Regions from separate parts of the Homo sapiens genome. Here regions 2, 3, 4, 5, 6 and 7 are each linked to region 1. The links are contacts of gene promoters, found by promoter capture Hi-C in blood cells and fetal thymus (Javierre and others, 2016). All regions are on one chromosome and are shown on one strand. The core of a region is centred on a gene start or on the middle of the fragment in contact, and the rest is flanking DNA. Distances in the headings are between cores, read along the strand shown. Region 1 holds the start of ADAMTS6 (ADAM metallopeptidase with thrombospondin type 1 motif 6). Region 2 overlaps CWC27 (CWC27 spliceosome associated cyclophilin). Region 3 overlaps CWC27 (CWC27 spliceosome associated cyclophilin). Region 4 overlaps SREK1 (splicing regulatory glutamic acid and lysine rich protein 1). Region 5 overlaps CWC27 (CWC27 spliceosome associated cyclophilin). Region 6 overlaps CWC27 (CWC27 spliceosome associated cyclophilin). Region 7 overlaps CWC27 (CWC27 spliceosome associated cyclophilin).

Region 1 (2,971 bases), core at 158-2,657:
GTAAGAAACTCACTCTCTTGTTCCCTCTCAGTGCGCTTTCTCAATCTCTCGCTCACTTTTCCTCTAGTACAGGGAAAGAAAGCATCAAAGACAGGAATTGTAGCACATATTATCAGAAAGAGGCTTCCCAATACCCCATTCCTGCACTCTCACTCTCCCTCCTCAATCCCTGAACTTTGGTCCCATACACCATATATACAGACCTACCCCGATAAACAAGGCTCCGGAGGGTTATGAGTCTAGCACGTCCCAAGTGGCCAAAAGTAAATCAAAAACACACGTTTCCATCTCTTTGATTAGCCTATTAAGAGCTTAACATGTCCTAGAGCATCGGGGCTACAGCTAGCACATTAATGCTACCCTCTGAGCCCAGGCATAAAATATGCACTTGTCTGAAGACTTAACGACACTGACATGAAACTACAAAATGCATAAGACTTTTCTGTAAGAAAACTGGAAATCAATTTAAAACACACACATCATTATTACCTTCCGGATTACTATTTGGTGATCAGTTAAAAGATTACAATAATCATAATCAAGTCCACTTCACAAAACATGTATTGTATATTCATAAAATAAACGTATTTTTTTTGCATCATAAAATAACTGCAAGTCCCAGAATTCTACAACCCCCGACAAGTCTGGAGTTAAAAAGATATCTATTTGTAAAATGAGTTCAGTCAAGCTCACTCATTGCCATTAAAAAAAAAAAAAAAAACACACACACAGAAAAAAAGTTTTCTAAGCGTTATTCGGAAGACAAGCAAAGCACAAGTTGTTGGTTTAAAAAAAAAAAGCTCCATTGAATATTGTTAAGTCTTCCTTACCGTTTTCATCTTCAAATTCTGATAAAAAGTAAGTTTCAGACAATAGAGATTGCACTGGACGACTCACGTACTCCCTCTCCTCTCTAACTTTTTTTAATTTTTTTTATTTTTTTATTTTTTGCCCCCCTTTGCAAAGCCACACCAGCCAGTTATTCTGCAGCCAGAATAAAACCCTATGGTCTGGCTAACCCGGGCTTTAGAGAACTGACTTTCCGATTTGGCAGAATAAGAGATGCCTTCAATACATCTAGGCTATCACTCTGAGATGCTGCCTTTGCAAACCCCCTTTCTCTCCCTCCCCACCCCCCAAAAAAGGAAAGGAAAAGAAAGAAAAGACGGGAAAAAAGACTTATTGGGGGTGGAAGTGGTGCCCTCTCTTCCTGGAAAGCTTAGTGCCTTTGCTATGCAAATAACATGTGCAGAGCATCAAAAGGTATCAGGAGAAAAGAAGACAAGAGGAGCAGGAAGGGCAGCAAAGTTTTGTTGAAGTAGCCCTAGATCTCACTACCGGCCCCCAGCCAACTTGAATTGCAGCAGGAGAAAATTTTGGCAGCTTTTCCTCGGAGGCAGAGCACACTGACGTCAGTCTGCAGATGTGCCTGGGCTGCGTCGGGTGCGCATGTGTCCTGGGTCGTCACGTGGAGGGGGAGGGGAGGTAGAGGTACAATCGGGGTAACCAACTACCAGCCATTCAGAAGGGCTTAGACAATGTCAACTTTTCCACACTGTGAATGAGAGAAATTCTGGCCTCTCTAACCTCTCTGTCCTATCTCATTCCGCCTCTTTTCCTCCTCCTCCTCTAAACTCTCTTAGAAATTCTAGCCTGGTTTGCTATTAGTTGTTTCTTGGAAAAATGAAGGGGGAGGGAGAAGGATGAATGACTTTAGATGGACTAATGTCACTGTTAAGATCTCTGGTGTCATTCTCCGTGTAATTTTATTTTTAAAATCCACACAATCAAAATGTTAAAACTTGCACGCAAACAGTGCCTCTGAGGAAACTTAAAGCTTAGATTCGTGCAGCAGGCACAAGACTCAGTAGCTACAAGTGTACAAAATGCCTGTGTTTTATACATACTTCAGCAAGTAAGGTTAGCACCAAAAGGGAAAGTAAACTAAAGTAAACTAATACCAGCACATTTTCCATTTGATTATCGACTTCAGGTTATGTGGAGCTTTAAAAGAAGAAGAAGAAGAAAAAAAAAAAGTAGGGGAGGAGGGAGCGGGGGAAGGAAGAGAGAAGCTTGCATTATTTCCAGATGAGGGTGAGACTGGATGGTGTTTTAAAGTGCAACCGGGAAAAGCCACAAGTGGAGTGTATTTTTTTAAGTCAGTCCATTGAATGAAACTTCAATGACTGCCCAAATGAAAATAAATCCGAAGTAGGACCCCACCACCAAAAAAAAAAAGGAAGGGAAAAAAACAGGAACCCTGCTGCGATCTCAAGATAAACAAACAAAACCTCAAAACTGGTTCTTCAACCTTCCCAATCCCACCCTCCCTCCCCCCTACACACAAGCTGCCAGTCCAGACTTTAAGGATAAAATACCGCTACAATGTAGCACTTTCACTTTCATTTGCTGAGAATGAAAGCCGCTGGGGAGAAAATGCCCAGTGTTTTCCATGTCCTAAGCAAGCAAACAAAGTCTGGCACATACATCGGAAACAGGAAAAAATGTGAAAATAGCTCAGGACAAATGTTGCCTTTCAACGGTGTAATCTGCTGCATCATTTATCTGTCTCTACCATTGAGTGTAGAATAGGGAGCTGTTTAAGAGTTTCCGAGGTTGGGGGCAGGGGAAAATTGACGCCTTGAAATTCCAGCCCTTAGTTAATGCCAAGTCAATTTCCGATGGTGAGAACCAGAAAGGAGAACTGGACCGGAGGGAAGGGGGTAGGAAGGATGATCTTTCTGAATACCAGCTCTTAAATATCAAGCTTCTGCTAACATTATTGCCCATTTGATTTTTTTTTTTCTTCCTACGCCGGAGGTAGTAGGTGTAATTCTTCTGGTGAATCTATGAATAGTTGGCTAAAAGGAGGCATGAATCAGACTGAGAACGTCCAAGAATACAGTTATTTCAATTCTTCTTCAAGGGTTGAAAGTGGAAAGCATCTGTCCACAGAGTAAATAGTCCTCAT
Region 2 (2,971 bases), core at 183-2,682, 690 kb before region 1:
GAGGAAGCTGAGGAAGAAGAGGAGGAAGTAAATCGAGTTAGTCAGGTAATCTCTAATTTGCCCTTTGTTCTAACTTACAAAAGAGATTGGGGTCTATATCTTACTCACTATTGTATCTCCTGCTATATCTGGCACAGCATGTTTTACATGGGGCAGGCTCAGTAAGTGTTCATTGAATTTGTAAATTGATTTGTGGTCAGTAATATTTGCAACTTTTGAGATTATCCTATTTATTTTTAATGTTGGCATTTTAAAAAAATCAGTTTGAACTAGACTTGCAGTTTTTTGAATGGTTGGACTTTATGATTCAGATCCTAACTGCTATTTTTTCAGGTAGTATGTTAGATGATAATGATTATTATCATTACTGATATAAACAGTCACAGACCAAAACTCTTATATTCATTTTAATGTTATTTATATATATTTTGTTTATTTCATTAATTCTCATTACAGCCCTTTGAGATGGGTGATATTATTATCATCCTCATTTTACTCATGAATACATTCAGCTATAGTTTATAATTTGCTCAAAGTAACATAACCAATAAGTAGCTACAGATGGGAACTGAACGCAGGTCTTTGTAACTATTAAATCCATGTCCTTGAATTATGCAGTGCCTCCTGGCCTTTTTATTCTGCTAGTCCTTCCTGTAGGCCTTTACATGTGGTTTTCTTCAATATTGCTTGCATCATAATACGCATTACTGAAACACGGTGTCATGCCATTGTTTAGAGCAGTAATTCTGGTGTGTATACTACAAGAAAACTGTCTTCAAGGGTTTCTACTCCTAAAGGTTCTGATATGCCTTTCTTTTTTGAAAATTAGTGAATACTGAGAACTAAAGGATTAGGTTTATAGTCTTTATTGTTGTAATTAAAACTTTATAACCTATAAGCCTTACTTGCTTAACATAATTATCTATTTCTTACCAACTCTAACAATAACATTGAATTAAAAGCATATTATTATTATTCTTGTTTTTACTTCTTTAGCCATATGTTCCCTTATTAGTGAGCACGGTTTTGCAGGCTAATGTTGGACGCCTAGTAAGCACTCTACTTAATACCCCTTGCATTAAAATGTAATTAAAATGGTGTGTATATGAAATATTTTGGTCATAACTTTTTGTTGCTTTTTATTGTATCCTTGAGTGATGTATTTGATGCCATGGATTCAATTTCCATTTACCTGTACACCAACATTCTAAACTCTAGGAGATAAGGCCAAATATTTCTCCTGGGCTCTTATCCCTTGTTCAGAGTTGCTTTAGGAAAGGTCTCTAGATGTCAAAACTAAATTCATTTTTTTACAAAAACTTCATTTCCCAATTCCTTAACGTCACCAATCACTCTGTCACCTCAATATCTGAAGAGTCATCTTCTTTAGATGTCAGTGCACTAGTCTTGCATTGTTTATGATTCAAATTTATGCCTCATCAAAATGATTTACTATGTGTCATGATTCTGTGGTTATGTTTGTGAATGGACAAAACCATGAATGTTAGATCTAGAAATTGCCAGGGTTCCTTTTCATTGATGTTTTCTAAAGATGTCAAGTTTCCTTGCATACCCATACTTTCCTCACAGTTCCCCCACCCCTGTTTTTCCTTTTGCCAGGAGTATGCTCTCTCCTTAAAGTGTTTTTCCTTTAAGATTTAGGTCTACTATCACCTTCTACTACTTCTACCTCCCCCTGCCACTGAACTCCCATCCAGGCTAAGCTAGGTACTTCTTTCCATGATAATCTGTCTATGCCCATCAAAACATTTATCCTACTGCATTACAATAATTTATCTTCTTATCTGCTAACTATACTATTTATTTTATGTAATCCCTATAACAACCATGCAATATAGATATTATTTTTCTTATTTTGTAGAATAAAGAAAGTGAAACTCAGAGAGGGTTAAATAACTCATCCATGATCATGCAATTAAGAGGTGGTAGAATCAGAATTTTGAACTGAGGGTTTTTTTAGCTAGTTAAGTCTCTCATATGATTATGAATGCTGTAGAAGCTGTCTCCTTCAAGCCCAAGACGTCTCAAAGGTTGGTGAGAAATTTCACTGGTAGCGTAGCATTCTGGGGTAGAAGGCAGCTGGGGAAGGCAGTTGGCCCGTTGTCCTTCCCTAAATCCCACAGGGTCCTGGATAGTTAGGTTGAGCAGCCTTGGAGAGCAAGGGCAGGAGAAAGTTTTTCTGTCAGTTTTTTGTTGAAGTTAAATTTCTAGTCTAAAGTAAGTTTTGTTCACAATTGCTTTGAGATAGACTTGACTAGGAAATTAGTTTGAATTTTTTCTATTTGTAACAGCAGCATGTGTTAAATGTTCAAAGATTATCTTCCTTCTGCTGCTTTCTACTGTACAAAATAGAAAAATGGTATGTTTACATTATACTGAATATTGTGAACTTATACTCCAAAAGCAATTTGCGTTTCAGATTGAAATGTACAAGGATAGCAGCACAGATAGTGCTGTCTTTTTTTTTTTCTTTCTTAAACCTGAAAAACACTTTAAATACTTTTAGAAGGACTGAGTAAAATCTTTTCTCTCTGCCAAGAAAATTACAACCCAAATACCGTTCATTATCAAATGAATATTATTATCCTAGTATTGTGTCATCATAGTTTTCTCATCTGGCTCTTTCGTAGGGGGTGCTTTGTAATTAAGTTATCATCAAATGCTTGTATCTGACTCTCACGTCTATATCTCTAGGCTGGTTTACTCTTCTTTTCTCCAGCTGCTTATTGGACATTAGTTTATCAAGCCCTGGGGAAGTCTTAACTCACTATCTTTTTCTTCTCAAACTTCTTATTTTGTGACTTTGTATTCCCTAGTGTCAATATCTTCCAAAGAAGGTCTTTAGATTCCATTGTGATTTTTCATATATTTTTTCATTGCACTGTCCTGGCAATTTTTTATCCAAGATGTATCTCAAATCTGTTTTTTCCTTTTAATTTATTGTTGCTAC
Region 3 (2,971 bases), core at 167-2,666, 670 kb before region 1:
ACTTAGAAAAGTAAATTAAATAAGAAGTCTCCAAAGGTGGCTTGAATATTTTAGGTAAACATGAGTATTGTGGACATTGTTGGATTCTTTTAGGTAAAATAATTGGCAAAGTGTGCCTTTGTAAATGGTGCAGACAGCACACATTTATTTATAACTGTTCTGTTCCCCCACATTTTCATTATTCACATTCTCTACTCTCCCTCCTTCATCCTATCTGTCCTACCTACAAAGAGAAACAAAAGAAAAATAAGGTCAGGATAGAGGAGAAAGTACAGAATTTCAAAAGGAAGAAACAGTTTTTTCCTCTAGTGTAGAAATTTCCATGATTGTCTCATGACCACGTATTTTTTTCAGTTCATAAAGTTGCCAAAATCAGACCCTGGCATGGTGGCTCATGCCTGTAATCCCAGCTGCTCAGCAGGCTGAGGTGGGAGGATTGCTTGAGCCTAGGAGCTCTAGGCTGCAGTGAGCTATGATCCTGTATGGGCAACAGAGCAAGACCCTGTCTCTAAAAAAATAAAAATAAATTTTAATAAATTTCCAAATCATTAGTACTTTTGGTTATTTATACCAGCGAGTCTCTGAAGTTAACTTTATGGTTAAAAAATAAAACAACACAGGAAAGCTCCAAATGTACTGAAAAACTACAACGTGGTAAAAGGGATAATTATATTTAAAGGAAAGTCACTGCTCAGTTTGAGTTATAATGGGTATAGCTGCCAGCCAGATAGGATGTCAGTGTGATATCATTATCTATTCAAAAATGTGTACTCTTGATACATGAGTTTTCATCAGGGTGTGCTTGAAGTACTCTATTATCCTTTGGTCATTCTTCCATTTAAGCAGTAGGATCAGAAACTAGACTAGCCCACCAGCCCTTTAAGCAATGAGCCGTTCAAAGTATAATTTTACTGAAAACGTGTGGTATTGCTTCTATTGGTAAGGAAACATCTGGAATCTGTTAAAGCTGGTTATCACTTTTGGATGTTAAACCTACACATGTATTTATTGAGTGCTTAATATTTAAACTGGGGAATGATATTTAACAGAATAATTTTCAACAAGTTTACATATAGTAGGATCTTCTCCTAGTAATGTGTTCTCAACAATGTCTCTAGTTGTTCATTTGAAAAAAGAGCTCAGGGGAAATACAAATCCAAAACGCTTCCTAGTTTCTCTCCTTAGAGAATCGGCACCCTTATATCTATTCTGACTTCCTAGGATTTCTAATCCCTTGTCTCTTCCCTTTTTAAAATGTACCAATCCCACTTTCTTTCCAGCCCACCTTCTCTATGCCTGTATCTTGACTACTGGATACAGCTCAGCAGAATCACACAGGCATATACAAGCTGGTATTATTATGGATTTCTAGATTCCAGCCTCAGCTGTGTCTCCAGTGCTTCCTTATTACTCACTCGCCACAATGTTTACTTCACACTTCAAACTCACTCAACGGATCACCTGGCTGCTTGTTTTTTTATGAAATGAGAGTAAATTTCTTCAACCCGTATTTCTTTCTCTTCCCCGCTTCGAGAGTAAAAACTAACAAAACCATTCCATTTTATTTCCTGTCCCTACCTCCTTCCTATTTATTTCTAAATACATATCATCTAGCTTCTCACCTACCACTCCACTGAAACTACTTCCACTAAGGCCATCTAGTTGATAATCGACTGGCTACTTTCCATTTTTTTTTCTTGGTCTTCCTGCTCTGGAGATTTTTGTCTCTTTTCTCTTGAGACTAATCTCTCTCAAGAACCTTACTATTTAAAGTGTGATCTGTGAAGCAGTAGCATTAGTATCACTTGGGAACTTGTTAGAAATACCGAGTCTCAGGCCCTGTCCTACACATTTTTAATTAGAATCTGCATTCTAACAAGATCCCCAGGTGATTTTTGTGTGCATTAGTTTGAGAAGCAGTCCTGTAGAATATTAATTTTTATCCCTACTGCTCCTGGATGAGTTCAAGTTTGTATCATGTTAGTTCCAAGGTCAGCAAGTTGTCAGCAAGTTGGTACTATATTCCCTGACTCCTTAGTGCAAACCTATGTGCACCCTTTTCACACTCCTGTAATATTAGGTTACATATACATTTTTTCTTCTTTGTGTATCCTTATACTGTAACTTTCTTGAAGGTAGTGATCATATCCATTTACATTTGTATCTCCATGTTCAAACAGCGTAGGTACCCAAATATTTTTGTAAATACATGAACAAAAAATGAATAAATTCTTCTTTGGCAAATCACTTTCTCCTCTGGATCTTGTAAGTAGCTTGCTTGTATTTTCAATAGGGATTTATTGATTCGCCTCTCCTCTGCCTAAACTAAGCTCTTTAGAGACTATGTCTTATTTATCTTTATATCCTCAGAGGCGGCTAATATCTTAAGCATATAGTAACTGGTCATTAAACTTTGTGGAATGAGTGGATAAATAAAATATTTAATTAATTATGTTCCATTATAGGAGTGGTTTTCACTCCTAACCGCACATTAGGCTCACGGAGGAGGCTTTGAAAAATACTAATTCGTAGGCCCCTCACCCACAGATTCAGAATTGTCTGGTCTGAGGTAAAGTCTGGGAAGATCCTTCTTTAACTTTTAAACTTTTAATTTAAGTATAATATACAAACAATGTGTCTATTAACTATATTTCATAGTGCACATAAGTATACAGCTAGCTGAATTTTTACAAACTAAATATATCCATATACCCATCACCCAGATCAAGAAACAAAAAATTGCCATTACCCATAAATTCACCTCTTGCCCCATTCTAGTTACTTCCCCCTCATCTCCTAATAGTAACCACTTTTCTAACCTTTAAAACAATATTATTTTTAATTGACAAATAGTAATTGTATATATTTATAGGTTACTATGTGATGTTTTGCTGTATGTATTCATGGTAGAAAGATTCGATCAGGCTAATTAACGTATTTATCCACTTCAGCAACTTACCTTTTTTGTGTG
Region 4 (2,971 bases), core at 174-2,673, 670 kb after region 1:
TTGTAACACTAGACATTTTTCCTGTGTTGATTTTTTTTGCTTGTTGATTTCCGTCACTTCTCTGGTCTTCTAAAGTTCTAAGAAAGAATGGAAAAATCTGTCAACTACTTAAGTTTATTTAGTTAAAAAAAATGTAACCACTAAAGCCACTTTATAGAAAATAGAGAAAAGGAAACAGCACTTGTGATCCCACCACTCTATCAAAGCTTCTCTCCATTTCCCTGTAGTCCTTTTCACATGCGTTAATAAATATTGGACATATTACCTCATTGGTTTTAAAAATAATTGTATAGTGCTATCATTATGTAATATATGTAATATAGCGTAATCAAAGGAATCACACTGTTATTTTACTTTTTTCACTTTGTCATAAGCATTTTCCATATTGCTGTCTTATTTATAGTAATATTTAGAGATTAGTAATTTCTGAGTGTATTGTGTGTTTTTGAAATTCTATTGTTGGATATTTTGATTGCTTTTTTTGGTATTACAAATTAGTGGATTTTAGCTAGAAATTGGGAGGTGTGTCTTTTTGATTGTCAACAATGATTAGAGGGCCTGTTGGCATTTAGTGGGTAAATGTTAGCAACTTATAAGTAGTCTTAAACAGGATGAATTGTGCTAATCCATAGGGCCACTGAAGCCCAGTGAAGAAACCCTGTTATAAATAATGCACCAACTAATATTTTTGTACATGATACTGTATGCTTCGCTCATGTTTTGGCATATCTTTTTTGGTAGGTCCTCTGTCCTCTAAAGGATGTGTATTAATGTACTGATAAAATACTGGACATATTATTACCTCATTGGTTTTAAAAATATTGTATAGTGCTATCATTATGTTTAATAAAAGACAAAATAACCAGTTAGGGCCAAGAAATTTAATTGATGCCCAAAAAGTTGGTTCTTTGGTTTCTGCGTGTACTACCCACTGAAAAGTTTTAATTTTTTTTGAAAAATTGATAAGATTTTGTATTTTAAAAAACCAAAACTTTAAGTCAACGAATGAGGTCAAACTAAAATCTGCTAAATTTGGGTACTGCTATTTTCTTCTTAAAATTTATTTCTAAAATTTTATTTATTTATTTAGTTAAGTAGAGACAGGATTTCACCATGTTGCGCAGGCTGGACTCAAACTCCTGGGCTTAAGCAGTCCGCCTGCTTTGGCATCCTAAAGTGCTGGGGTGACAGATGTGAGCCACTGTGCCTGGCCTGCTAGTTTCTATAGATGCATACATTTAGACCAAATGGAATATGTCATCCCTTTTTATGTGTTTTTTTTTCCCCCAAGGTCTTCTTCTGTTGCCCAGGCTGGTCTTGAACTCTTGGGCACAAGCAAGTACACATTTGTTTGATGAGCTATCTGTTTGTTGGCTTGCTACTCTAATAATTTTAGTTTATAATGGTCAAAATAAAATAGTGTTACCTTGCCTGAAATTTTCAAATATTTGCATTTTTATAAAGTAAATGTAAGTTGGTCTTTATTTTAAGGAAGGTAATTGGAAATGAAGATTAAGAAAATTGGCCGGGTGCAGTGGCCCACGCCTGTAATCCCAGCGCTTTGGGAAGCCGAGGCAGGCGGATCACGAGGTCAGGAGTTCGAGACCTGTCTGGCCAACATAGTGAAATCTTGTTTCTACTAAAAATACAAAAAATTAGCTGGGTGTGGTGGTGTGCACCTGTTATCCCAGCTACTTGGGAGGCGGCAGGAGAATCGCATGAACCCGGGAGGCGGAGGTTGCAGTGAGCCGGGATCCCGCCATTGCACTCCAGCTCGGGTGACAGTGTGAAACTCTGTCTCAAAAAAAAAAGGAAAAGAAAAGAAAAGAAAATTGCTTAAATCAGTGGAGTAGCCGTACCTAATATCCATACTTCCATGATGATGCTGTTCAGAACAGACCAACATTTTTTTAACCAGTTCCCAGGCTTCTGAAATGTTGGTGGCATGTCTTCAGATGTAGTTGCATTACAAACCAGACTCAGAATTCCTATTCCTGTGGATGTTTTAAGTTTGAAATGAAGTAGATTTCAACTAGGGGTATTTGGAAATGTGGTTTTAGTTTTCAGTAGTGCTTACTTAACATTTACATTCCTTCACAAAAGGATCCGTCAGTTTAGGAAATGTTGCTTCAGAGATGACTGTCAGGCTCTTGAAGATTTCAGAGGCAAAAGAGTTATTCCTGTTGGAATTGCTAGGGCTTTAGTAGGTTATTATAATCACAGATTGTTTTTGGTTAAAAAGGACAGAAACAGTGTTACCCAAGGTACATCGAGAAGAGACATTATTATTAAAAAGAAAGATTTCACTGCGTTGAAAAATAAAGATTGTAGTACAGCCAGGCCTCATGGGAACTAGTACTGGGAACCAGAAGGGTATCAGCAATCAAGATGACTATCTGCTTCTTTCTCTGCAGTGGTTATTATCAGTTCAGTTTGTTTCTATCTACTCCATTTCTTTGCATACCTATTATGTACTCATCATCTGGCTTACAGCTTGCTGTAAGTCACCTTCCAGCCCAATAGAGAGAACCTGATTGATTGATCTAGCTCATTTGGTCGAGCCTGACTTCCAAAATTAGAGGTTGCTGGTCAGCCAGGGAAATGGGCCCTTGAGACTGGTGACTAATCATTTATGGCTAGAGAAGCTTATAGGATCTTTTGAGGGTTTCACATGAGGAAACCGTGCTAAGGCCTGTGCCAAAGCAATATAGAATGTCTTGGTAGCACATGTAGGAGGCTGTACCTAATGATTGCGGTATCTTAAGATGGTTTACCAGAAGACTTGGAAATTTGAGCCTTGAAGAAGAGTGGAATTAGCATTCAAAATGGGAGTTAGCGAGGACATCGTAACCAAATGGAACAGCATATATGAAGACCCATATGTTTGTGATGTGTTGCTGGAACCACAGGTATCATTTTTGGGTGCATTTCCATGACGAGGCAAGAACAGAATAGTACCTTTAAGGAAATT
Region 5 (2,971 bases), core at 252-2,751, 650 kb before region 1:
GGCACTTTAGACTTGCATGTTAATGTTTAGATTATACCTAGAAACTTGCAAATTTCCTTGATCAATCAGTTTTTTTGACAGGATTGCATTCTTGAGAAACTAAATGACAAGTAGTAAGTTCTGACTTTATAGTTCACTAATTATTTTGGTTAATAAGTTAGTAGTAATTTTTAACTTTGGTGTTTTTTTGTTTTTTTTTTTTGCTAATATCACAATGTAATACAACTGTTAGTTTCATGTCTTCTGCTTTCAGTTTTATCCTGTATAATACTTAGAAATCTTAGTTTCCTTTTCATTATCCAAGATAAATTTTTAGTTGGTAAATTTTCTTGGACGTGTCCTCCTTAATTTTCTTCAGAGCATTGTGTGTATATGTGTGTGGCAATTTTGTTGTCTCACCCTAAGAAAAGAAAAAGTAAATGGAAATGAAAAAGCAAATCAGCATATTCTTCTCTGGAACAATTTTTTCCCACTTTTAAGCAAATTGTAGTAACCTAGGTTAAAATTGCCTTTTGAATTTTCAATGTGTTTTTCTTTTAAACAAGCGCATTGAAAGAAAATAGAAAGTTAACATAGCAGGTCTTCGCATCCTTTCCTTAGAAGATTCCCCCAATCCTCTAAATAACATACTTGATATTTGTATTTAATTTACAATTCATTTAACACAAAATTGTAAACTTCTCTAATGAGTAGGAAAATGGAGTAGATAATCTGTTTAAGTTTCAATGAATTGAGAATATTATTCACATTTGAGATTTGGAAGGTACCTAGAACCATCTGACCCAGTATCTTACCTAGCCTCAGAACTCATCGTACTGGAATTTATCCCATGTCATAAGCTTTTATACCACGTTTGCATGAGTTTTATTTTTCCATGTTGTTTCTTTTCCCATTACCATTAGCAATTGAAACTTGACTATAAAAAAAGGACTTGTTTGTAGGAATCAGGAATACTACATTTTTATAGAGGAAGGAGTATTGCTTTGGAGTTAAACACATCCAGGTTGGAATACCAGCTGTACCACTTTTTAACTTAGTATCTTTGCCTGACTTATTTAATCTCTGATCCTCAGTTTCCTTATTTTAAAACAGAAATAAAAACAGCTATTTTACCAGATTGTTGTAATGCTAATATGAATTAGTAGGCATTTAATAAATTGTAGCTATTTAAATTATATTATATCATATTCTCTTTTTCTGTTTTCAAGATACTACATACTTATTGAGGACACAGTAGTCGACCTATATCCATGGTTTTGCTTTCCATAGTTTTGATTGCCCACAGTCCAGAAATATTAAATGGAAAATTCCAGAAATATATAATTCATAAGTTTTAAATTGCATGCTGTTCTGAGTAGTGTGATGAAATCTTACACCATCCTGCTTTGTGCTGCCCAAGATAAGAATCGTTCCTTTGTGCAATGTATCCATGCTTTATATGCTAGCTGCCTGGTAGTCACTTAGTAGTAGCCATCTTGGTATCAAATTGAGAAACATAGTATATATGGGGTTTTATACTATGCGTGCTTTCCGCAGTTTTATCCACTGGGAGTCTTGGAATGTATCCCTCTTGGATAAGGCAGGGGGACTATGTATTCTCTAATAATTTTCAGAATTTTTCAGGTGATTCTTTCTGAATGCGTTCATTTTACTATGTGACATTTTTAATTTAAGAAAAATGTATTAGGCATTTTTAAAGTAGCTAGGATGAGTCATTTATACTACCATTGTTTTCCTATTAAGTAGTACTTAATCCTCTGTCCCACTTAATCTTCCTATGCCAAATGTTTACAGCACCTAAATAGAATTATGGAAGTTTAAAGTTGAAAGAACCATATTAACTGTCTCCCAGTGTCTTAGTCCGTTTGGACTCCTATAACAAAATACCATAGTCCGGCTGGCTTATAAATAACTGAATTTTTTTTTTCTCACAGTTCTGGAGGCTGGGAAGTCCAAGATTCAGGCACTGGCAGATTTAATGTCTAGTGAGTGCTCACTTCCTTGTTCATAGGCAGCTGTCTTTTGCTGCATCCTCAAATGGCAGAGGGGGCTTGAGACCTCTCTTGGGCCTCTTTTATAAGTAGGATTAATGCCCTTATAAAAGAGGCCCAAGACAGATTGTAAACATTCAGAGAATAGTACCCAGTTTCCTTATTTTACAGATAAAGCTTTTATGAATAGAAGATAAGTGACTTGTTCAAGATTATTTTGTTATTGACAACCTAGGTCATCTGAGTCTGAATGTAAATCTGGCTTAGTTTTACCTGTACTATCCTCTGAAAGTTCCCAGGCCACTCACCAGTTTACAACAACACATCAAATTCAGAAACAGTTACTATATTCACATTATTTCCCTCTACCCATAAAATAGTTAATCAAAAGAGTACATGCAAGCAAAAGGGCAGGAAGCCACCTAGAGAAGCTGATCACAGCCATCTGTGGTATGAGGTATATGGTAAATATTCAACCATTTATTTAATGGAATGAGTGAATGTTGAATCTGTGATCATGCAAATGATAATATCAATGTACAAAATGAAAATGTGATTTTTAAAATTTCTGTATTTATTTGAACCAGATTGTATTATAACAGGATAGTTAGATTGCTAATGTCATTTCTTATAAAATGATTTTTCATGATTTGAATTTTCTAAAAACAAGCCTAACTTCTACCTTTTATGACTCATGTGTTTTATTCTTTTTCTTGTGAGATTATTTGTTAGGTCCAGGAAATTCAGTCAATTTCCAATTTTAGAATTAATGGCTTAATGTCAGTACTGACTCAACTTATGAATGGATCATGTTTGTAATTTTATTTGTATGTTATTTAGAATAGGTAAAATTTCCCTCCAGAAACAGGCTATAATTGATGTTAATTTTTCCCCAATTTGAAAAATTTAATTTGGGATCTGTTAGAACTCTACTAGTAAAAAAACAGGTATCGAGAAAGAAATATGTAACTTACATTTGT
Region 6 (2,971 bases), core at 180-2,679, 640 kb before region 1:
CACAACACCAGATGGAGATTTTTTTCCCTGAACCCAGAATTTCAACAGGGGGGAAGGGAATTGGATGCAGTCATCCAGCATACCTAGCATTCTGATATGCTTCTTATGAAACCCACTCCGAAGCAATCAGCATGGCTAGACTGCCTGGAGTCGGGTAGAAATAAAGGAGGCAGAGGTCATATTGACCAGTGCATGGATCTTGACAGTACCTCTGTGTTCCTGACAGCTGTGATGCCTGGTCACAGATACCAGCCAACCTCATAGTTGACCCCCAAAGCTAAGCTAGTTGCCTTGAGAAGGAAGATGGGAAGTTCATCCTAGCTTGAGTCCTTAGGCTGCTAGTTTCCCACCCAGCCTCAGAGCCCACCTCTGTGACCTGCATATGCAGGGGGATGCCCACTTCCTCCCATTTTGGAGAAGTGAAGGGTCTATACCAGTTTGACTTGAGAAGTCAAGCAGCAGCTCCCCTCACCCTCAGCCAAAAAACCTGCTTTACAACCCCACCCAGGCAGAGAGACTCTCCACCTTTATGAATTTCAGAGAATTAAATGGTCTAGACTGACTTGACATGGGTGCTCAAGCAGTGGCTCCATTCAGCCAATAAGCCATTCCAGTGACTTTGCATAGGCAGGGAGATTTCCACTTTCACGCATCTTAGAGAAGCATAGAGCCTAGACCTGTTTGACCCAGGCAGTCAAACAGCCACTCAACTCTGCCACAAAGCAATCCCATGGCTCTACCCTGATAGGGAGGTAATCCTCAATTGTGCATTTCTAAGGGGTACAGCTTCTGGTATTTCTCCTCTCCCAGGAAATTACTCTGCCTAACCTTGGAGCCCAGCCTACAGCCCGGCCCAACTGCAGATCTCAAATAGCAGAATTGCCCATCCAGGGAATACAACTTGCAACTGGCCTGATGAGAAGCCATCACAGTTTCTAGCCATTAACTCTGCCTAATAGCAGAGCCCAGCCACTGATCTCACCAGACAGTGGAGTCTATCCAGCAGCCCCATGTAACATCAGAGGAAAGGCATCTGCCCAGCAAATTAGAGAACTCCCAACAAGCTCTGACTCCCTGGGATCATCACCAGCTGGCCCTTCCCAGGCTAAACTAAATAGTGAACCTCTATCCATGCCAAAGAACACCTATTGTAAAGGCTAGAAGAGGGGGCTTTCTCCTCAAATGCATAGACAATAACACAAGGACACAAGAACTACAAAGAACAAAAGAAATCCCAAAAGAAACTAATAAAGCTTCAGTAATGGACCCCAAAGAAACGGAGATATTTGGAATGACTGAGGAAGAATTTAGAATACTACTCATAAAGATGTTCAGTGATGTACAAGAATATATGGATAGAAAATGTAATAAAATTTGGAAACTGATACCTAACAAAAATAACAAGTTTGACAGAAATAGAAACAATATAAAAGAAACACATATAAATTCTAGAGTTGAGGAATACAATGACTGAACTGAAAAATTCAATAGAAAGCATCATTGGTGGATTTGATAGAGCAGAAGAAAGAATCAATGAGCTGGAAGACAGCATTTGATATTATCCAGTTAGAGGACCAGAAAGACAAAAGAGTGAAAAAGAATGAAGAAAGCTTATGGGACTTATGAGACACCATCAAGAGTTCAAACCTTTGCATACTAGGATTTGCAAAAGAAGAAAGAGAAAAAGGGTCACAAAGCCTATTTAAGGAAAGAATGACTGAAAAATCCCCTAATCTGGGAATAGATGTGAATATCCAGGTACAAGAAGCACAGAAATTTCAATCAAATTCAACACACAGAGGAGTACACCAAGGCATACAATAATCTAGCTGTCAAAAATCAAAGACAAAACATTTTGAGAACAGCAAGAGATAATAAACACATCACATACAAAGGAGACAATATGACTATCAGCAGATTTCCCAGCAGAAACCCAGTAGGCCAGGAGAGAGTGGCATAATATAATTGAAATGCCGGAGGAAAACAAACACAAAAACTACCAATCAAGAATACTTAACCCAGCAAAGCTATCTTTCATAATTGAGAAGGAAATAATACTTTCTCCCTCAGTTTCATGAAACATATGAATTGCAAAACTCAATGGTATATGTAAAATAGTGCCATATTCAGAAAACTGTAGGACTGTAATAATGGTGCATAAGGCAATTTCATCCCTAGTACATGAGTCAAAAAACAAAAATATTAATAGCAGCTATAGCTAAAATAAATTATCAAGGTATACACATTAAAAATGATGTAAATTCTGCCATTAAAAACATAATGTTGAGGGGGTATGAAAAAGTATAGAATTGTTGTATGCAAAGTTAATTGTTGTATGCAAAGTTAAGTTGTTATCAGCTTATACTTGATTGTTTATAAGCTGTTATCAGTTTATACTTGATTGTTTATAAGATGTTCTGTGTAAACCTCATGGTAATCACAAAGCAAAAATCTTTAGTGGAAATATAAAGCAAAAATAGAAAGGATTCAAAGCATACCACTATAGAAAACCATCAAATCACAAAGGAAGACAGCAAGGGAGGAAGACAAAAAAAATTATTTACCAAACATCCAGAAAAAAACTAAGAAAATGGCAATAGGCCGGGCACAGTGGCTCATGCTTGTAATCCCAGCACTTTGGGAGGCCGAGGCAGGCGGATCACTTGAGGTCAGGAGTTTGAGACCAGCCTGGCCAATATGGTGAGACCCTATCTCTACTAAAAATACAAAAATTAGCTGAGCGTGGTGGCATGCACCTGTAATCCCAGCTACTCGGTAGGCTGAGACAGGAGAATCGCTTGAATCCAGGAGGTGGAGGTTGCAGTGAGCCAGGATCACACCACTGCACTCCAGTCTGGGTGACAGAATAAGACTCCATCTCAAAAAAAAAAAAAAAAAAGAAAAAGGAAATGGCAATAGTACATCCTACATATCAATAATTACCTTGCTTATAAATGGATTAAATGCTCTA
Region 7 (2,971 bases), core at 293-2,792, 620 kb before region 1:
GATACTAGATTTTTAAATATATTGAAAACCTCAATATGAATAAAATGCAAAAATTATTAGCATTTATAGTAAACAAAACACAAAACATCTCTATCTGTCTAAACAAAGCTTTTGTCTACCCCGACTGTTGGGGCTAAGTGCCTGTGTTACCCTATGAACTGCCCTTGGTTTGATTTCTAATCATACCACCATTGTGTGATAGATATCAGGATAAAGCTGAAATGCCAGGTCAGACTCCAGATTTTCTGGTTAGATTTTCAGTTTTACTTTTGGCTGTTTTGACCATGTTTTATGATGGGTACCTAGTCAACATAAGTAACTCATTAGGATCAGCTCTACTTTTTAATGCTGTTGATATAACATCAGTCTTTCTGGCTTAAAATTTCTTATAAAATTTTTGAATGAGTATTTTGCATATATAACTGTGTTTTAAAGTTATACTGTAAACACTTGTATTTCTTCATAACTTTAAGTACTTTGGTCCAACTCTTTATCTGCAGAGTTTGAAATATTAATGAATTTCATCAAAATATATAATTAGTTGATAAACTGTGAGTGCTCTTGGTATGTTATCATCATACAAATAACTATACATTATAGTATAATCCCGTTTCAGTTATCTATTGCTGTGTAAAAATGACCTCAAACTCAGTAACTAAAACAAGCAGCTCATAATTTTTTTAGGTCAGAGATTTGGATAAGGTACAAATTGGATGGTTCATAATGTTCTGCAATATCTGGGACCTTAGTTGGGGCTCCTCAAATGGTTAGGAGCTGCCTAGAATACTCCGTGGATGTTTCAACCCGTAGGGTCATATGTCTCAAGCCTTGACTCTGCCTGTTGGACCAAATGCTTAGTTCTCCATGTGTGGCTTTTCCATGTGCTACCTTTGGTTTTTTCACAACATGGTGGTCTCGGTTTCTAAGAAGACATATTCCTAAAGTATCAACTCTAATGTCCTAGCAGTTATCAAGCCTCTTCTTATTTTTTTTTTTCACTCACCACCATACTAATAAGGATCAAGCCTCTTCTTGCATCAGAATTTTTTTGTGTGGCCAAATCAGATATATATATATATAAAACCAATCTTCTCTATTATAGAGTTATGTTTTTTCTTAGCAGGTATCTCATGGTCAGGCCTAGAGTCAATGTGGGAAGAGACTATACAAGGGTATGAATCACTTGTACACTTATACTTATGTGTAAGTGATGGTTCACTGGAAACCACCAATGTACCAAAACAGTTGACTAAACATGCTTAGCACACTTCTGTGTTCATATCAGGTACTCTGTACTTAGTGATTGATTTAAAAATCAAGGACATTTTTATATATGCTTTTTCTATTTATGTGAATTGTTACATTTTGCCACATTAACCTTTAATATATGAATAAAGTTAAAACAATGAAGAGACTTGAGTAAGTACTGTTTCTAATGGATATCCTAGAACTGAGGTCCTTCTATGTGCTTCCATTAACAGCAACATAATACCAGGTCTCAACTGCCATTGTGCTGCCTTACATTATACTTCCATGTAATAGTTGCATTGCTATAGGAATATAGGTTACTAAACTATCATTCTCATTACTTTCCAAAGAAATGTTCAATATCATGCTATTTAAAGACTAAATATGATAACGATTTTAATACAATGTCATTCTTCTAATGTTACATAGATACATGTATTTATCCTGTGCATCTTGGTATGAGGATTTAAAAATCCATTTTAGGGGAAAGTTTTGTGTGCAGAGCACAGAGCGCTAGATATCAAGTAGGTTTATGTAAATAGTATATTGCTTCATGTTGTTGGTGCCATATAACAGAATCCTTTCTGCTAATTTAAGTCACAAATGAATATATCAAAATGATATCAGCAAACCCACGGAATGTACGGGAAGGCCAAAGAGCCAGGCTGAGTCAGGATGCAAGGCACTGCCTACCTGACAATGTAACTACTAGGAATCTGCCTCTGCAGTTGCTGACACAGCCACACTGCATATTTATGGACTCCATGCTACTATGGCCAGCGCAAATAATCTTTTATCTTATTAAAAATAATTTAGGCATATCAGGAAGTAAATATAATATACCCTTCCTCAAAAACAAACAAAACCCTAGAAGAAAACACTCATATACTTATCACTTGGATTAAACAATGATTGATAGTTTGCTGTATTTGCATTAAAATACTTCAACACAGAAATAAATTACAGAAGTCATGTTTTACCACTAAAAATATGAATATGAATACCTTAAAATGGAAAAACTTATATAACCATACTAAAATTCATATATGTAATGAATTAATAATTCCCTAATAATCATCTAATACCCAGCCCATATTCAAATTTTCCCAGGTGTTTGCAAAATGTTTTTTATAGCTTGTCTGTATATGTCCAGATCCAGTCAAGGTTTACATGTTGAATTTTTTTTAGTCTCTTGAGTTTTGCTTTAGACCATTCAAGCTACTTTAACAAAATACCATCAACTGGGTGGCTTATAAACAAGAAAAGAGAAATTTCTTTCTCTCAGTTCTTGAGGCTGAGAAGTCCAAGATCAAGGCATTAGCAGATTTGGTGTCTCGTGAGGGCCTATTTCCTGGTTCATAGATGGCCATCTTCTCATTGTGTCCTCATGTGGTGGACAGGATAAGAAACCTTTCTGGGATTTTTTATAAGAGCATTAAACCCATTTGTGAGGGCTTCACCCTCAGGACCTACTCACCTTCCAAAGTCCCCACCTCCAAATACCATCACACTGGGAATTAAGTTTCAACATATGAATATGGGAAGGACAAAAATATTCAGTATCTCCTACCCTTTTAATTTTTCTCATACCTTTGACTTGATAAAGTTGGGCTAGTTGTCCTGTATAGAATGACTCACGTTCTGGACTTGTTAGATTTTTTTCTATGTAGCATCATGTAACTTGTTCCTCTATCATCTGTATTTTCTGCTACCTATAAGTTAG

What was found. The method cuts DNA at HindIII sites, captures the fragments that hold promoters and counts their contacts. A CHiCAGO score of 5 or more calls a contact.
Region 2: a contact is called between a fragment that was not itself captured here and the fragment with the promoter of ADAMTS6 in region 1, in 16 of 17 cell types (M0 macrophages, M2 macrophages, megakaryocytes and 13 more). The highest score is 23.3, in M0 macrophages.
Region 3: a contact is called between a fragment that was not itself captured here and the fragment with the promoter of ADAMTS6 in region 1, in 16 of 17 cell types (M0 macrophages, M1 macrophages, M2 macrophages and 13 more). The highest score is 40.4, in M0 macrophages.
Region 4: a contact is called between a fragment that was not itself captured here and the fragment with the promoter of ADAMTS6 in region 1, in 1 of 17 cell types (fetal thymus). The highest score is 5.4, in fetal thymus.
Region 5: a fragment that was not itself captured here is called in contact with the fragment with the promoter of ADAMTS6 in region 1 in 16 of 17 cell types (M0 macrophages, megakaryocytes, non-activated CD4 T cells and 13 more); the score reaches 22.0 in M0 macrophages.
Region 6: a fragment that was not itself captured here is called in contact with the fragment with the promoter of ADAMTS6 in region 1 in 13 of 17 cell types (erythroblasts, total CD8 T cells, naive CD8 T cells and 10 more); the score reaches 10.9 in erythroblasts.
Region 7: a contact is called between a fragment that was not itself captured here and the fragment with the promoter of ADAMTS6 in region 1, in 3 of 17 cell types (M0 macrophages, activated CD4 T cells and naive CD8 T cells). The highest score is 8.7, in M0 macrophages.

What each region holds. Positions count from the first base shown.
Region 1 is chr5:65,480,513-65,483,483 of GRCh38, forward strand. It overlaps ADAMTS6 (ADAM metallopeptidase with thrombospondin type 1 motif 6), which reads right to left and starts at 1,408. Exons shown (of 25, transcript NM_197941.4): 1 at 831-1,408. RefSeq lists enhancers at 1,161-1,520, 1,288-1,787, 1,561-1,610. The HindIII fragment of the contact is 619 bases long and covers 1,217-1,835 here.
Region 2 is chr5:64,788,976-64,791,946 of GRCh38, forward strand. CWC27 (CWC27 spliceosome associated cyclophilin) reads left to right here. Exons shown (of 14, transcript NM_005869.4): 7 at 1-45. Among named protein-coding and RNA genes, the nearest start is that of CWC27, 22 kb to the left of the region's middle. The HindIII fragment of the contact is 3,301 bases long and covers 1-2,971 here.
Region 3 is chr5:64,806,319-64,809,289 of GRCh38, forward strand. All of the region lies in intron 10 of CWC27 (CWC27 spliceosome associated cyclophilin), which reads left to right. Among named protein-coding and RNA genes, the nearest start is that of CWC27, 39 kb to the left of the region's middle. The HindIII fragment of the contact is 3,254 bases long and covers 1-2,971 here.
Region 4 is chr5:66,147,549-66,150,519 of GRCh38, forward strand. The region is part of intron 1 of SREK1 (splicing regulatory glutamic acid and lysine rich protein 1); the gene reads left to right. Among named protein-coding and RNA genes, the nearest start is that of SREK1, 4.7 kb to the left of the region's middle. The HindIII fragment of the contact is 2,439 bases long and covers 205-2,643 here.
Region 5 is chr5:64,826,514-64,829,484 of GRCh38, forward strand. All of the region lies in intron 10 of CWC27 (CWC27 spliceosome associated cyclophilin), which reads left to right. Among named protein-coding and RNA genes, the nearest start is that of CWC27, 59 kb to the left of the region's middle. The HindIII fragment of the contact is 1,329 bases long and covers 838-2,166 here.
Region 6 is chr5:64,844,113-64,847,083 of GRCh38, forward strand. The region is part of intron 10 of CWC27 (CWC27 spliceosome associated cyclophilin); the gene reads left to right. Among named protein-coding and RNA genes, the nearest start is that of CWC27, 77 kb to the left of the region's middle. The HindIII fragment of the contact is 357 bases long and covers 1,252-1,608 here.
Region 7 is chr5:64,860,269-64,863,239 of GRCh38, forward strand. All of the region lies in intron 10 of CWC27 (CWC27 spliceosome associated cyclophilin), which reads left to right. Among named protein-coding and RNA genes, the nearest start is that of CWC27, 93 kb to the left of the region's middle. The HindIII fragment of the contact is 2,872 bases long and covers 107-2,971 here.